Regions from separate parts of the Homo sapiens genome. Here region 1 is linked to region 2. Evidence: promoter capture Hi-C in human tissues and cell types (Jung and others, 2019). All regions are on one chromosome and are shown on one strand. Each heading gives the region's core, a stretch centred on a gene start or on the middle of the fragment in contact. The rest is flanking DNA. Distances are from core to core; before and after follow the strand shown.

Region 1 (2,700 bases), core at 195-2,694, 1.2 Mb after region 2:
CATTCCCAGCTCCATGTATTCTATATACTGGGAATATAGCACCACATACAGTGGCAGATGCTTGAAGGTCTGTTCTGTAACCTGAGGATAGTGCCCTATCTTTTGCAGGGTGTCATCTCCCAGCCAGCACTTTAGCTGTAACTTCAAGAGGCAATTTCACTACTCTTTCATGATGGCAGTTTCTAGATGGTGCATGATCCACAACCACATGCCCAATGCCATACCTCAGTTGCTATGAAGACAGTCTCGTGGTTCAAAGACAATGTTAGGCGCCATCCCAGGTCAGTAGGTCATACACTTTATGAGCTTGCACACAGTGGAGATAGCTGAGGCACTACAGGCAGGAAAAGTAAAAACATATCTGGAATATGTGTCAATCCCATTCAAGATAAATTTTTTTTTCCAGAGTTGAATGGAACTGATATAAACAATAGGCCGCCGAATGACTAGTTGGTCATCTGAAGGAAGAATACCAATAAGAAAAGTAAGTTCTAGGGATCTGATATACAGCATGGTGACTATAATTGATACTGTATTTTATACTTGAAATTTGCTTTCAAGATTGCTAAGATCTACTTAAGCGTTTTTCTACCATGAAAAGGTAGAGATGATAGGTGTATTAATTAGCTTGATTGTGATCATCATTACACAGTGTGTATGTACATCAGATCTCCACATGGACACCTTAGATACATAAAATTTTTATGTGTCAGGTATACCTCTATAAGGGTGAGGGGAAAAAGAAGGAATGGTACCATATCAAGTACTCGGGAGTGATCTTTGTTGCTGAAAGTTTAGACATCTAGCAGCAACAGTAGGTAGATCAGCCATGGTGAGACAGAGTTTATATTGTTGGACCCAAGCTTCAGGGTTGCTTGGAACACAGCAGGAACCTGCTTCAGAGTCTTTTTCGTTCTTGGCCCAAGTCAAAATTAACAGTTTCCAGATTATTCCAACAGTTTGTTGAAGAGTATTCCCAAGTGTTTTATATATTTTGCCTCCAAAATGGCCTGTAAAGGAAGGTGTGATGTATAGAAACTTGTCGTTTACCTTGGAAGGGATGTCTCAGCATATTCCAGCATGTGGATGCCTAAAAACTTTATTGAAGTGTATGGCTGCTGAATCTTTGTAGTGTTTTTCTTCCTCCGTTTAGATTACGTGTCTTAATAAGACGTCCAGAATAATCGCCATTTCTTGCTCCTAAGGTCCAAATAACATGATGTCACCCACTTAGTGACCCCAAGTGAAGTTCTGTGGACTGTTCAGATGGCCCAGAACCCTTTGCACTATCACGGCAGAGATCTAGAGAATTGACATAGTGCTTGGACAAGACCGTGAGTGTGTAACTGTTAGCCATCCCGTGTGTGTTTCTTGTCCTTCTGAATGATAGAGAGCAAAATGGAAGCAGATCAATAGCCACTAACCACACAAGCAGTAGTGTTAATCTGCTATAGTAAAGATGTCACATCGAATACAGAAGATGTTATTGAAGTTACTACTTGGAGAAGTTTGTAGTAGTTCAAGGTCATATGCTCTGATTCACCTGATTTTCTAGGGGGCCGAATGGTGAATTATATGGGTTTATAATGAAATCCAGCACCCCTATATCCTTTAAATTTCTCAGGGTGATGCTAAACTCTGCCATGTCACTCCTGGGATGCAACGTTGCTTTTGATTTATAGTCTTGGCAATGGGGTGAGAATGTAGTTTTAGGGGCTTCTACTTGCCATTCCTACTACAATAGCTCTTACTCTATAAGTCAATGAAATAATATGAAGGTTCTGTAAAATCCTAATATGTCTGTTCCAATTATACATTCAGAAACTGGGAAAATGATCTCTGTGTGAATCTGTAGACCAGAGGACACATGTGTCCAGCTAGGACTCCATTAATTACTTGAACCTCATATACTTCTGCTCTACCAAGAAGTCCATGAAGATGCTTTTGTTCTCTAGGTATCTGCATCAATTCAGACCGTATATCTAACAGTCCTCATAAAAGCTATGTATTCCCATTTCCAGAGCATGATACCCTAGTGTATAGCCAAAGACCTTTTGGGGAATAGCTAGAGGAATCGCTACTGTATACATTTGTCCTGGTGTTGCAGTGTCCTTCTTCATGTGGACCTGGCCTCTCTTTCAGTCAAGGGGAATGTTCTGTAGTGGGTTTGAAAACTACCTGAGGTTTGTAAACTGGGCAAGGAATCCTGACTTTCTATTGGAGTAGCTGACCACAGTCTTCCGCTCATCTACTCTTGGTTTTTCTTTTGATTTTATATATATTGAGCAATATCCTTGATGGCTGCACATCTATCTTATCCCTTAGAACATTTTATTCTATTTTTTAAAATGAGCTATTCAATTTATATGAATTTTTAGATTAGGCAAAACTAATTATTGGTAAAATAAATCAGAAAAATGATTGCCTCTGTGGCTGGGGACTTACTGGGGCATAAGGCATCCTTTGGGGGTGATCAAAATGAGCTTTCTTCTTTTTTATTTTTAAATTGGCAAATTAAAATTACATATATTTATGGTGTACAATATGATGTTTTGAAATATGAATGGGTTGTAAAATGGCTAAATCAAGCTAATTAATAAATGCATTGCCTCACATACCATTTATTTGCAGTGAGAACACTTAACATTTACTCTGTTAGCAATTTTCAAATATATCATACATTGTTATTAACTATAGTTA
Region 2 (2,700 bases), core at 181-2,680:
ATTCATTTTAGGCCTAAATAACTCTGCAGAGAATAAGGGTTTTGCAATGTCAGTTGCACACACAACTTCCTGTGTGAATGCTAAGCCATTACAGGTGTCCTAAGGCCTCCAGTGAAACCTATTATCAAGAGATTCCTCTGGTCTCCTCGAAGTCATCCCCAGCGCCCCCCATCCGCCGCCCACACATTATTGCTTCTCTCCTCCAAGTGTCTTGATTAAGGACCCTCTCTCTTCTCCGCACTCCCGAGGTTAAAGTGCCCCCGTTCCCTTGGTGTAGCTAGTTACAAGCTTTCCCGTTAGGGAAGACTAGTGCCTGCAGTCCTTTTTAGTTAGATGCTTTTAAGTCAGAGATGAGAGGAGCCACTTGAAGAAACCCTCCTTCCCTTCTTCCTTTCCCCCACTGGGAACCAAGTCCCTGAAGGACAACACCCAGGGACGCTTCCTGACCTTCTATCCCCTCACCCAATTTGGGCTTGGAGGGTTGGGGTCGCATTTTCTCATGTCCTCTGCTGCACTGGATGTGTTATGTAAGAGGGACAGAACGCGGGAGGCACATGCGTATAAAGCGCACCGATCTGTGATAACAGCTGGGGTAGCAGAGCGGATCTGGAGTCCACCCCCCCCCCCCACCAAATACGACAGACCCCACACATGCACATCAGCACCCCCTCCCCCACACACCCACACACACACACACACACGCACACACCCAGAGCAATGTTTTCCTGTCTCACCCCTACCAGTACCAGAGGCACAGAATGGAAAGGCGGGGGGTGGGGGTGAAAGGAGGTGAAAGAGGAGGAGGAGCAGCAGCAGCACATCTGCTTTGATAGCAGCCGGCAGTGCCGCCGCGGCAGAGAGCCCCTCGTTAACCCCCTTCCTGTGGCTGCACCACGTCATGGAACATTCCCGGAACGGGCCAACGTTCCACCCACTTCAGGGAACAGACATAAAGGCGCAGACCCAGTTCCCCACAGTGCACAGCCCAAACACACATGTCCCTTCCCGATCCCCCGCCAGACGGACAGACAAACACGCATGCAAACCGCCCCCACCCGTCTCCACGCGCCCGGGTCCAGCCGGCAGCGGCCAGAGCCGCTCTGCAGCCGGTGCACCCGCAAGGCGAGGGCGCCTCCGCCTGAACCTTCCATCGAGACAGTCCCCTCCTTCCTCGCTTCCTTCCTTCGCTCCTTCCTTCCTTCCTTCCTTGCCCGGGAGGTAAAGGGAGTCACTGAAATGCCCAGAGCCAGCGCCTTCGCTGCGCTCGCTCGGCCGCAGGCCGGCGGCCCGGGCCTCGCGCCGCCAGCCCGCCCGGCCGCCTGCGCCGCGCGCCGCGGCCCCCTCCCCCGCTACCTGACAACGGGCCGCCGCCGGCCGCCGCAGCCGCAGCGGTGGCCGGGCCGTGCGCGCCGGTGCACGTCGCTCATTAGTAAGCAGGCACATTCCTGCCTCCAGCGCTCCCGCGCGGCCCCCTCCCCCCAGGACATTACGCAAAGCAGCCTCCCCTCATCTGCATAGATCCGCGGCCAGGGTATTCCCCGCATTTCCCCACGCGCCCGACACCCCTCCCGCGGTCTCCCCCATCCCCGCCCCCTCCGACCCTCACCCTCGGGCCACCGGGAAGGGGCTGGGGGCACACGCCGGGGAGCGGGGGACGGAGTTCGGCGGCGGCGATTCCAATATAAAGTGAAACAAGCTCCCAGCGCCGAAGGAGGCAGGAAAAACCCAGCGTCCAGGCCACTTACCGAGCCGAGGAGGGACCTAGATTCCCGCCGCTCCGCTCTCGCGGTGGCCGGTCCGCCCTCCGCGCACCCCGAGGCTGCACCCAGCACCCCAGACGCGAGACGTGGAGGAACGCTGTGAACGAGCCGGGAGACCCTCCAAGTTGCTCTGGGCTCCGTGGAGCGTCAAGGTCCAAGACACAACTTGGCAAAGACTTGTGCCACAGTCACCGAAGATGTTTGTGCGGAGACCCTCCTGCGGGGAACGACGGCGCTCGGCGGCGCCCCGCTCTCCTCCTCTCCACCCCCTCACCTCCAGCCCGCCTCCCGCCGGCCGCCCGCCTCCGGGCCGCGAGCCCCTCGGGCGGCTGTCAGCTCCCGGCCGCCGCCGGGTGACAGGGGCGGGAGGAGGGCGCGACGCGGCGGCCCGAGCCCCAGCGGGCGAGGGGGATCCTCGCAGCCGCGGCGGCCGCTCACCTGGAAAGTCACCGCTGAGGAGGAGGAGAAGGAGGACGGGGAGGAGGAGGGAGAGGAGGAGGGGGAGGAAACCCCCCTGGTGCCCTTGTTCTCGCTGCCGCGGCGGCCGCTCCTCGCCAAGGCTGAGCGTGTCTGGTGGGGGGTGTCTGGTAGCATTTCCTTAAGGACAGAGGGAGGGCGGGCGCGGAGGGAGGGAAAAGATCCCGACCGCCAGCCCAGGCTCCTCTTGCCTTTATTTATTTTTCTGACACTGTACGGAGATGGGCCCGGGGCAGGGGCCGCCGGGCTCAGGCGGGAGCCGCGAGGCCCGGGCCGCAGCTGTCTGCGTGCGGGAGCCGCAGCGGCCGCCTCCCCTCCCGGGCTGTGGACGCACCGGGTTATTCCTGGCAGCGCCTCCCCGAACAGAAGTTACTAGGAGGAGTGCGCGGCGAGGGCGGACGGGGGGAGAGGCGGAGGGAGGGAGGGAGGAAGAGGGAGAGACTCAGCCAACGACGTCATCGGA

The links. The method cuts DNA at HindIII sites, captures the fragments that hold promoters and counts their contacts. A contact is called where the count stands out against the background at its distance.
Region 1: a contact is called between a fragment that was not itself captured here and the fragment with the promoter of HIVEP2 in region 2, in 1 of the 25 tissues and cell types used here (spleen).

What each region holds. Positions count from the first base shown.
Region 1 is chr6:144,112,447-144,115,146 of GRCh38, forward strand. LOC105378036 (a long non-coding RNA gene) reads left to right here. Exons shown (of 4, transcript XR_943089.3): 3 at 407-484. Among named protein-coding and RNA genes, the nearest start is that of SF3B5, 18 kb to the left of the region's middle. The HindIII fragment of the contact is 3,737 bases long and covers 1-2,700 here.
Region 2 is chr6:142,943,746-142,946,445 of GRCh38, forward strand. It overlaps HIVEP2 (HIVEP zinc finger 2), which reads right to left and starts at 1,431. Exons shown (of 10, transcript NM_006734.4): 1 at 1,354-1,431. RefSeq lists silencers at 1,061-1,130, 1,271-1,370, 1,571-1,800, 2,031-2,660. The HindIII fragment of the contact is 8,201 bases long and covers 1-2,700 here.